Regions from separate parts of the Homo sapiens genome. Here region 1 is linked to region 2. Evidence: promoter capture Hi-C in human tissues and cell types (Jung and others, 2019). All regions are on one chromosome and are shown on one strand. Each heading gives the region's core, a stretch centred on a gene start or on the middle of the fragment in contact. The rest is flanking DNA. Distances are from core to core; before and after follow the strand shown. Region 1 overlaps MYH9 (myosin heavy chain 9). Region 2 holds the start of APOL1 (apolipoprotein L1).

Region 1 (5,439 bases), core at 1,051-3,550, 120 kb before region 2:
CCCTCCAGGACGGTGCTCTACCGGTTGTTTAATTGCTTTGAGCTCCAGTTTCTGTATCTGTAAATTCTGGTTCATAGAACTATCTGTTAGTGTTCTCTGGGTAGCTAAAGTATGAAATGCTCTCAGCAGTGTCTAGTTCATGATGGACTCCCGATAAGTATCAATGCCCCTCCTGCCCTTCTTCCCACCCCCCACTGCCCACCCCTGGTTCACCAGCGCTTTTTCCTTTTGTCCCACTTTGCTCTCTGCTCCGGGCTTCTACTTCTGATCAAAACACTTGAGAACTGGGTGGGGGCTGCCCTGGCTGCTCCCAGCTCCCAGGCTGCCCTGCCTTCTGCCCAGTGCCTGTGAGCCAATTGTTCTTGGAGGTGGCTCCTCCCCTCTGTTAAGTCATAAGCACTTTTGACACCGGTAAGGAGGAACTGTTGTAGAAAGCTGGTGCAGGACTATAACCTAAACTCCCAGGTACTGGCCCGAGTGTTGGATGGCTGCGGTTCGAGCGTGCGTTGCCAAATGCTTCGCTTATGCCACTGTTCCCAGCGGACTGCTTCATGTCTTAGCAATTCTCTGTGCTGGCTTATGTGCTGGTCTTGCTTCCCCTTTTAGAGGCCTTGTCGCCAGGACCCTTGCATGGTGCCTTGCCCATGGTGAGCACTTGATACATGCTTGAGAAACAGGTGAGGATATTCATACTAGAATGTGGGTGGCACAGACCCTGATGTCCTGGGTAGATGGCTTTATTTCTTTGGCTTCTGAGCCTCACCAGCATGATGGGCGTGTGTCTGGTGCTTAGGTAAATAGGCAGGCACTCTGGACTCAGACCATCTGCCCTAATCTTGGTTCTCCCACCTGCAGGCCCTTTGACCTTGAGTGAGTCATACAATCTTTCTTTGTGCCTCAGTTTTCCTTATCTGTGGAATGAGGAAAATAAATGCCACAGAGGGTTTTGATGCTAATAAAGTATAGCTTTATTGTTTATATGTTTTATCTGTCCACAATTTATCTGGCACAGTGCCAGGTGATATATTTTTATCTGTTTAAAAATTTCAGTCTATTTTTTATATCACGTTACAAAGGTTAAAGTCACTTTCAAGTTATTGCAACAAAAGTCTCTCAATCCCATGAAGGTGGCAGTATTAGTGTTCCTATTTTGTAGCTGGGAATGTTGAGAGTCCAAGAAAACCTACGTGACTAGCCCCAGGTAGCAAGTGAATGATCTAAAATCCTCTCCCAGCTCCTCATTTTCAGGCCAGTTATTTTCCATATCTACTTCCATCGCCTCTCCTGCCTTCTCATCCCACTTCAACCACTATGTGGACAATAGTTGTGAAATTGGGTTTTTGTAGACTTCCACACATAGCCTCACAGTGGTGGTTGCTGGGTCGCGTTACCTAGTTGGCTTTATGGCACCAGCTGTAAATTACAGCCCTCCCTGTTCCATCCTAAGAGACCTGTCGGGTAGACAGCAGGTGAAGGCTGGCAGGCTGGTGTGAGGTCTGGTTAGCCTGGTCCTTGTGGGGAACCTGGGTTTTTGCTGTCCTCCCTCTGAAGAATGGATACCGCCCCCTCGTACCTTCCTAGCCCACCAGCATGCTGTTCTCAGCCCGCCTTCTGCCCAGAGCCGGCCTGCCGCCCACTGTTTCCTGCCTTTGCCAGGGCGAGGGGGAGGTGGGTATATAATGCCAAATGCTCATGAAAAACGCCTCATCATGAGATTAATTACTTGCTGCCGAGCACTGTGGAATTCACGAGTCTCCATCAGCACCTCAACGTCTTCCCCTGAACTCTACCTGGGGTTAGTTCTGTGGACTCTCTGGCTAGAACTTTAAACCTATGTTAGACAGAAAGAAATAGATAGTGGCCACCAGTACGATGCTGAAGATCAGTCTGGCAAAATCCCTCCTGCCATTGACTAGCTGTGTGTCCTGGAGGCTTGATGTCCTCAAAGTGGGGACGCTAGGCTGAGGGCGCTTTCTGGTTGTGAGGCCTGGGTGTGCTGACCTGTGCAGTATCATACACCTTGGAGGACCAGCGTGGTACAGAGGGGCTGCAGAGGGGTGGGTCTCTTCCCTTTTAATACAGGTCACAGGCTTTAATGACCCTTAGGTTGAAATTAGAGCCCCCCCACCCCCACCCCCTTGCCTTACTTCTGGCTTTTACACAAGAATCTGAAGAATGTGATGCTCTATCGCGGACGGGGCAGGCTTCGCAGGCTCTTCCGGGCTTTGCAGGGCAGCCTTTGTTGTGCTGCAGGACCTGGGGCATTCCGAATTGGTTGTGGTTGGGAGTCAGAGACAACTCCAGGCTTATTAAATTCCTGGCTGTTTAGGGCGATATAGACAGCTGGGAGGGGTAAGGGTGGGGAGATAACACTCCTCCACCTCCCAGCACTGTTATCTTAGAGAAATTGGGTTAAAAGTGAGTCTGCTGGAGGGGATTGGTAGCAGACAGGAGGACAGATACTGGTGCTTTGGCCCTGGGCTACTGGAAAGCTTGCGGGTCCACCTCTGCGCTTCTCCTTCCTGATCACGGAGCAACTGCTGTTGACCAGGTCCTATGTGACGCCTTGCCAGATGCTCTGTGTGCATTCGCTGTCTCATTGCACCCCTAGAGGCAGTGGAGCAGAGTGGTTAGGGATGGAAGACCTGGAGCCCCAAGTGAGACCTGCAGGGTACAGACACCGGCAGCTAGTGCCTGTGTGTCCTTCAGCAAGTAAGCCTTCTGGCCTTGTTTCCCCATCTGCAAAACGGGATACCACTAGAATCTACCTCACAAGAGTGCTGTGTGCTAAAGTGAGATTCCTGGTGAAAAGCACTCAGAATAAAGTGCAAGTGGCCGTTATTTAATTACCAACAGGGTCCTGGGAGGTGGGCCTTTTCATTCCCATTGTACAGATGAAGAAAGGGAGGTTCAGGACATTTAAATAATTTGCCGGATTTCCTGAACCAGTGAGGAGAATCCAGCGCTTACCTCCAGGTTGGCCTGACTTCGGCCATATCCCAGCATCCTCTGGGGTGTCTGTATGCAGGCATGTGTGTGTGTGTGTTTGTATATGTGCATGTCTGTTTGCACAGGTCTCTGTGTGCATGTCTCTGCACCTCTGTGTGCACAGATCTTTGCACGTGTCTGTGTGCATGCATATCTGTGTGTGTGCAAGTCTGTATGCACCCATCTTGGACTGGGGAGGGGAGGAGGGGGCCTGGGGCTCTGTCCAGGGCAGGATGGCATTGGCCCAAATCTGGCAGCTCTCTAGAGCAGGGGCCGCTGCTGCTTCCTTCTTTCATGTGCAGCCACAGCTTTGGCCACTTTCAAACCAGACTGTGGCCTGGGCAAAGGAGTGCTGCTTGGTGAGTGGTAAAGTAAGCGGTAGTCACGTTTCTGGGGAAGGACTTGGTAAGGTCATCCTGCCGGCCAGGCTGCCTGCTCAAGGACACTGGGGTTGGCCAGCCTTTCAGACAAGGGTGCTGCCGCAACCCAGTCTAGGAGCGGTAAGTTAATTTTTCTGTAAAGTGCAAAATAAGTGGATTTCATCCTCACTTGTATTTGATCATTTCCCCCGGGGAATGCAGGAGGCTCTGGGATGCTTCTCTGGAAAGCTTGGCATTGCCTGCCATGCCTTCTATATGTCCAGGGCTGGCTGTGTGCTTGCTCATTTGAGAACCGGAGCAAGGGATGGAAATGTCGGGAGGAGAGACCGTTCACCCTTCAGTTTTGGGCTTCTTGTTCCTGGAGTCCAGGGCACCCCAGAGCAGTGCAGGAGAATCGGCCTCCCTCCCGTGCCACGTGGACTCTTGCTATTGGGTTATTCTGTCCACAGCTTTGCTTCCTCAGCGAGATCCTGCTTAACCCTCCGGAGGGTGACGAAGGAAGAGATCCTGCCTCAAGTCTTTGTTCATGTTGCCTTGGTAGAAAAGGAGGCCGCACTAGTGCCCCATTACCTTTGAGCTTGTGACCAGGGGACTCCTAAAAGTCCATGGACCGCACTGCAGAGTCTCTGCGAGCCCCCTAACGTGGTATGCAAGGCGTTCACCACCTCTCACAAGTTCTCAAAGGGGTCCTTGACCACTGACCTAGACAAATAGAAGCTTTGGGTTTTCCATTTGTAGAGTGTGCACACGTGAGTGTCGCATAACGGATGCAGCCTGGGGGCCGTTAGGATCAGGATGGGGGTTTGTTCTAGTCTAAGTTGTGCCACCCCAGGGGTGATCACTTTCCTGGGGCTCATCACTGTAGCTCCAGCACAGTGGCCTTCCCCTCCCTGATGATCCTTCTTGTATTTAAGCCTTTAGAACACCGTCACTTCTGGGTATCTCTTCAGTGTGGGGCTGGGCCTGGAGATGGGAGGGGTGATGTTTCTGATGCCAGACTTGATCTCTTGTTACCTTGGATGCTGAGGAAGGTGGGCTCCTCTTTCGTTCTTGTGCTCTTGCCCCTGCACATCGGCAGGGATGTTCCCGGGAAACCCTGTACCTAGGCAAGTCACTTAGCCTCCCTGAGCCTCTGAGGCTCTCTCCTTTTTTAGGGGGAGGGGCCGCGTGACCCTTCACTTTGCCAAGGCTGGCGGGATCAGATGATGTAAACACCACGAGATGAATGTGTCAGGTGATTGGGTTGCTACAGCTGAGTCTCACTTGCCTGGAGTGGGACACTCCCCCCGACCCCCCACCTCTCACTGAGTTTCCCTTTGGCTTTGGACTTGAGTTTCTGCTTGGCCTGGCTATGTGATCTTAGGCAGATCGTTCCTCTCCTTCCTAGCGTAGATAAGTCACGGTGGTGTTTTTCAAGAACTTTCAAGTGAGATTCATCGGTGGGTCGTGAAGTGAGTGGCAACCAGTTTGTTTGTTTATTTATTTATTTATTTTTGAGATGGAGTCTCGCTCTGTCACCCAGGCTGGAGTGCAGTGGCAGGATCTTGGCTCACTGCAAATTCTGCCTCCCAGGTTCAAGTGATTCTTTTGCCTCAGCCTCCCGAATAGCTGGGATTGCAGGTGCCCACCACCGTGCCTGGCTAATTTTTGTATTTTTAGTAGAAACGGGGTTTTGCCATGTTGGCCAGGCTGTCTTGAACTCCTGACCTCAGGTGATCTGTCCGCCTCAGCCTCCCAAAGCGCCTGGATTATAGGCGTGAGCCACCATGCCTGGCGGGCAACCAGTGTGTTTAGAAATGAAATAAAATAGACTTGAATGGAAAAGAATCAGAGTGAATAGCATGTGTATGTCACATTGTGACAGTTTTGTTAGACATGTTTGTATTTATGACAAAAAGTTTTTAAATTAAAATTTAAAAAAAGGCCGGGTGCGGTGGCTCATGCCTGTAATCCCAGCACTTTGGAAGGCTGAGGTGGGCAAATCACTTGAGGTCAGGGGTTTGAGACTAGCCTGGTCAACATGGTGAAACTCCGTCTCTGCTAAAAATACAAAATTTAGCTGGGTACGGTG
Region 2 (6,129 bases), core at 1,086-3,585:
GGACAAGGGTGACAGGAGAGGGGCATCCCTTCGCCTTCTTCCTGCTTTGTTCACTGTGTGATCCCCTAGGCCAGGGGAGCCATCTCAACACCATCTCATGAGCCATGAGGACACAGGAGGACCAGGAGAGAGCAGAGGAGCAGGAGGGTAGAGAGAGCTGGTGCCTCGGATTCCCCCGACACTTGTGAGGAGCTGCACCCTGGATCCCATCCTCCTTGGTCATTGTTGGCCTGGCTCAGACCCTGACCTGGAGCCTCTGCTGAATATTGAGGCCGGATATTGACCGTTAGCCTCAACTAGGATACAGCGGGTCCTCCCTGGGCGAGTCTGCCGGTTGGTCAATTCCGGGAAGTGACTTTGGTTCCTAGAAGAAGCCCAGATGGCCCTGGCCCAGCCCAAGCCCAGTCCAATTGTGCAGCCCAGACAGGGAGCCCTCCCTCCCGCCTCAGGGCTCTGAGCCAAGCTCACCAGATGCAGAGGACAGAGACTCTCAGCAAAGCAGCTCCCTCCATGTCGCTGCAGGGCCTCCTCCTTGAGCAGGAAAAGAGGGGTTGAGACAGTGTGCTCCTCCTGAGAAATCACCATTTTCATTTCATTTTTTTTTTGAAATGGAGTCTCGCTCTATCACCCAGGCTGGAGTGCAGTGGGGCGATCTAGGCTCGCTACAAGCTCTGCCTCCCGGGTTCACGCCATTCTCCTGCCTCAGCCTCCCGAGTAGCTGGGACTACAGGTGCCCGCCACGACACCCGGCTAATTTTTTTGTATTTTTAGTAGAGACAGGGTTTCACCATGTTAGCCAGGATGGTCTCGATATCCTGACCTCGTGACCACCTGTCTTGGCCTCCCAAAGTGCTGGGATTACAGGCGTGAGCCACCGCGCCCGGCCTTTCGTTTAGTTTTTAATAAACAGTTTTGCTCTGTCACCCAGGCTGCAGGGCTTTGACACCATCCTAGCTCATTGCAGCCTAGATCTGTTGGGCTCAAGTGATCCGCCTCCTTCAACCTTCTGAGTAGCTGGGACTACAGGTACACACTACCATGCTGGGCTAATTTGTTAATTTTTGATTTCATAGAGACAGCATCTCCTGTGTTTCCCAGGCTGTCTTGAACTCCTGGCCTCAAGTCATCCTCCCGCCTCTGCCTCCCACAGCACTGGGGTTACAGGCTTCATCATCTCTTTTTGGTGAAGAACAAATAAGACCATGACTCAGATTTCACAGAAATTACCCCCCTGATTTCATGGACTTTTGGCAGCTCTATCAGGTTTTTTACAGGGGAAAATACTCAGGCTGGGAGGGGAGGTGAATTTCCCAGAGTCACACAGCTCTTGGAGGGCAGAGGGGAGGCCAACATCTGCCCTTGTGACTCTAATATTGAAGCAAAAATGTTTGATTTTAATAATCCAAAAGTTTCCAGGTTTGATTCTCCTTCTATGAACACAGAGATCTAAGCTCTCACTCCTGTAGTTATACTCACAATTCCACAGTGTGGCTTTTGAATCTCATGATTGCAAAGCTGGCATCATGCCACAGGCACCATTCTGCAACGCACCCTTCTCACTCCCCTGTCTCAGCCACGTTTCCCATTAGGGACACAGCACAGCCTGTTTCTTCTCCATCACCCCAGAAGTCTGAACAGAGGGACAGAGGTGAGGGCCAGAGACGTGGAGTCCTATGATCTACCTGCTCAGCCTCCTGACACGGGACCCTGGGCAAGTCATTCCGCTCCCAGGGCCTCAGTTTCCCCACAGGGCCTGGCACAAGTTGGTGCTCAGACTCAGGGTGGGTGAGATGACCTCTGAACTCCTTGTACCTGAAAAAAAATTCTGTTGCCCCCATTGGGCCTCAGCAGCAGCACCCTGGGGCCAGCCTTGGTGTGGCCTGGCCATAAGAACAGGCTGGGATCTGGGTCACCTCCTCTCCTCCACCTTCTTTGGTTCCTTCAAATTTCCCAAAGAGATGGGCACCCCCAACACAAACCTTCCTTCTGGGTTCACTCAGTCGTGTCTCAGCAGTCAAAACCAGGGCTGAGCCCAGGGAGCTTTGTGAACCCATCTGAGCTGTTTCCCCAACCCTCTATAGTTTAAGAGCCCAGCAGGAGAGGGGAAGCAATCAGACTCAAGCCTGGGTGCAAATCCAGGCTTTGCCGCTACTTTCCTGTCTATCTGAACCAGTCACCTAACCTCTCCCAGCTTATCTACAAAAGCTGTGAGAATAAGATGGAGGCAGGTCAACTGTCCCCAACTTACCAAGGAATCTTCCCCTGGCAGAGACTGAGCAAGATCCAGCTGTTCTGAGCTGTGTGGATCCCACCTCCAGTTATGCGTCTGTATAATAACCAGACAGGTCCTCCAGTCCCCAAGATATACCGAGGAATTCGAAAGGGAAAGTGAAAGTCACAACTTCCCAGCAGCTCATGACCAAGCACAGCAAACACGCTCCCCTCCACCTTCAGTCCAGCCCCACCCTCCTTGCTGCTGCCCTTAGAGGAGCAGCCTGAGACCAGACATCCAGATCCCTCTCATCCAACCCACCTGCCTCGCATCCTCAGGGCTGGGGGTCTGCTGTGGTCTCAAGGAGAAAGACCTGCCACTGACATACTATGGGACCCTGCAGATTACTCCCCATCCTCCCGTGCATCCACATTCCCCTGATGCCTGCCTTACTCCTGCCCGTGCCATCGGCATAAGCACAGTCTCCCACACATGCCTTGTGGATGCTTATTGTATATTTATTGTAATGCCGTTGGGGTTATTTTGGTTATGTTTTTGAGACAGGGTCTCAGTCTGTCACCAAGACTGAATTGCAGTGCCACAGTCATCGCGCACAGCAGCTTCAAACCCCTGGGCTTAAGCCATCCCCCCACCTCAGCCTCCTGAGTAGCTGGTTCTACAGGTATCAGCCAACCACCCAGCTAATTTTTAAAAAAATTATATTAGAGATGGTGCCTCACTATATTGACTGGGCTACTCTTGAACTCCAGGCCTCAAGTGATCCTCCCACCTTGGCATGAGCCACCGCACCAGGCCTGCTCTTGTTGAAGGCCATGCCTTGTGGCTTCTAGATATTTGCTTATATGGGGTCTTCTGCCGGGAGCACCTGCTTCCACCGCCTGGAAAAATCATGCTCATCGTTCAGTGACAAAATCAGGCATTGCCTCCTTTCAGAGATCCCCCAGCATCCTCCCCAGCAGAGGCCACTGCCCCGTGTTCCACTCCCGAGGCACACAGGGTGGAGGGACTAGAGACCACTGCTCAGCCACACTTCCATGACTAGGAAGTCATGCAACCAGATTGCTATTGGACTTTTGTGCTTTGCCCCAGGCAGAAGGGCCTCAAAGGCAGCTAAACCACAGAAGCCAACCTGACCCTTCCATGGGGGCCTATTTCATCCTGAGCAAACATCTCTGGGGGCATCGTGTCCACCTCACCCCACCCATACACACACACACACCAGCTTATGAGGCAGGAAGAGAATGGTGATTACACAGGGACTGCACAATACACTTTGCAATACATTCCATTTGCAAATGCTTCTCCATTTGATTGAGTTTTATAATCATCCCCTCAATGGGCCAGGATTATGATCTGATTTTGCAGATGAGGAAACTGAGGCAAGAAGAGAGGACGTTGCTTTCATCCAGCAACTCAGGGAGGAGGCAAGACTTGTAAACCAAAGAGGGTCTGGGACACGTCTCAGTCAGTTTAGATGTTTACTCTGCCAAGGTTGAGGATGCACCCAGGAAAAAGTCACACAAGTCACAGGAGGTTCTGGGGTCCACTCGTTTTTCACAGAGGGTTTTGAGGCCTCCAGTATTTAAATGTGTAAAATCAGGCAGGAGTGGAAGGAGGAAAGGAAAAAAGACAGGATAGGTAATGAGGTGAGTGGTCACATTCTTGTGAAGCTTTGATTAGCCCTCCTTGAATCCACAGGTTGTCTATGAAAGGAGGGGGTAGAGGAACAGTCAATTATTCATTCGTCTCATGCACAGTTCGTCTACATTTTATATAAGATAAAAATGAACATAGAGTAGAGGAAGCAGGCATATGTGCATTTTTCTGAGGGTGGGCAGAAGTCTTGTTATTTATCATGTACCAGTAAAGATAAGTTGCTAATTTGCATTGTCACAATGAAATTACACAAAGTCTGCCTCAGGGTAAAAACTGCTGGGACCCACAAGGAGTTTCCTTGTGAGCAATTTGTGAAGGAGGCTACCTGGGGAACATGTTGCCTTTTGTCTTCGCAAATATCTGCTTAGAAGCAAAAACAAAGGCAGGTTTTGGAGTGACTCCGTTTCTAAGCTTAACTGTTTCCAGTGAGTTTTGGGGTCCCAAGATTTGATTTTCCTTTCACGTTTTCTCCTTGTTCTTCAACAACTTTTTTTTTTTTTTTTTTTTTGACAGATTCTTGCTCTGTTGCCAGGCTGGAGTGCAGTGTTGTGATCTCGGCTCACTGCAACCTCCACCTCCCGGGTTCAAGTGATTCTCCTGCCTCAGCCTCCCAAGTAGCTGGGACTACAGGCACGCACCACCAAGCCCAGCTAATTTTTGTATTTTTAGTACAGACAGCGTTTCACCATCTTGGCCAGCATGGTCTCGATCTCTTGGCGTTGTGATCTGCCTGCCTCGGCCTCCGAAAGCGCTGGGATTACAGGCGTGAGCCACTGCGCCTGGCCGTTCTTCAACATCTTTTGGACAAAACACTGTAGAAGCAAATGAGTCTCTGGTCACGAGTTTGGTCTGAATTCTATTGTAGCAGGACGAGCTGCAGACAAAACCTCTCAGACACCGAGTAGTAGAAGGAAGGGCTTTATTCAGCTGGGAGCATCGGCAAGCTACTGCCTTAAAATCCGAGCTCCCTGAGTGCACAATTTCTGTCCCTTTTAAGGGCTCACAACACTAAAGATTTCACACGAAAGGGTCATGATTGATTTGAGCAAGCAGGCGGTACGTGACAGGGGCTGCATACACAGGTCGTCAGGGGGGAACAGAACAGGGCAGGGAGTTTCACAATGTTCTTCTACATAATGTAAGGAATCTATGAATAACATCGGCTTCTGAATCATAAGTTGATTTTTAACTAATGGGTTTAGGCCAGGCGGGCCCAGGCCTGGTTTCGGGCCTGGCGCCGGGCTGCCTGTCTTTGGTTTTACTTCCTTGTTGTTTTTTCTTAAAACAGGTACTGAGTACAAAACAATATAAAAATAATATGAGAGGGTCTTTCTCTTCCTTCACTATAACACAGTTTTCAAGCTTCAGTTTGCAGGACTTTAAGAAAAGCACAGTTTGGATTTCTGGTGATTCCAAGTCAGAAAAATGAGAGAAAAAGAAAAGCAAAATATTAGTTTGGAGACTTGTGGCCAGGAAAGAATTCAGTATGTAGTCCAGATAAACTGTGGACAAACAATACGGCTAGAAAACAATGGAGAAAGCTAGAATCCAATAACAGGCATTCTCTAGTTTCTTTTGAAACATACCTTTTCTCTCTCTAGTCCTGTATTTCTACCAAAGACAAATCATAGTAGGGCTAATTTATTTGCAACAGAAGTTTTAGTCTGATGGTTCTTGGCCTGATCATTTGTATAAAGTGCAGCAAGAATACTTATTTGGCATATGGGCTCCTTTTGGAAATTGACTTTGCTACAATATTTTCTTTTTCATAAGATATCTCAGAGTAGGCCTTTTAAAATCTCAAGCTCAGCCAGTGATTTATATTTGCCTGCAGATGCCTATATATATTAGGTGAGTTCCTTTCTCCTCAAGGTCCCAAGGTAACTTGGGCTTCCTGGGCCTGTCAGAAAGTGACATTCTTTACTTACCACAGGACAGGAACCCTGTAAAGGAACTGTATAGGCAAAGTTTGAGGAAAATTTTTCAAAGAGGCTTTCATCGGCTCTATAAGCCAGCCACCATTACTCAAAGCAGCCTACGTACATGTGGAAATATGCCATGCCAGTCAAAGCCTTGGTAAAATAACCAGTGTCTCTAGTTGTGTCCTGTTATGAAAGAAAACAGATTCCAACTGAACTTATGCAAATAACTCTATTGCCATGAACTAAGAATACTCACAAATAGTTTCCAAATTCTGGAGAAATCAGATAGTGAGAAAGAAATATGCTTCAAATTTTGCT

Evidence for each region. The method cuts DNA at HindIII sites, captures the fragments that hold promoters and counts their contacts. A contact is called where the count stands out against the background at its distance.
Region 1: a contact is called between a fragment that was not itself captured here and the fragment with the promoter of APOL1 in region 2, in 2 of the 25 tissues and cell types used here (aorta and pancreas).

The regions. Positions count from the first base shown.
Region 1 is chr22:36,365,612-36,371,050 of GRCh38, reverse strand. All of the region lies in intron 1 of MYH9 (myosin heavy chain 9), which reads left to right. Among named protein-coding and RNA genes, the nearest start is that of MYH9, 20 kb to the left of the region's middle. RefSeq lists an enhancer at 1,691-1,780 and a silencer at 2,093-2,387. The HindIII fragment of the contact is 6,874 bases long and covers 1-5,439 here.
Region 2 is chr22:36,249,339-36,255,467 of GRCh38, reverse strand. APOL1 (apolipoprotein L1) reads right to left here and starts at 2,335. Exons shown (of 6, transcript NM_003661.4): 1 at 2,249-2,335; 2 at 469-531. The coding sequence starts at 512. RefSeq lists enhancers at 1-473, 2,223-2,282. The HindIII fragment of the contact is 10,399 bases long and covers 1-4,102 here.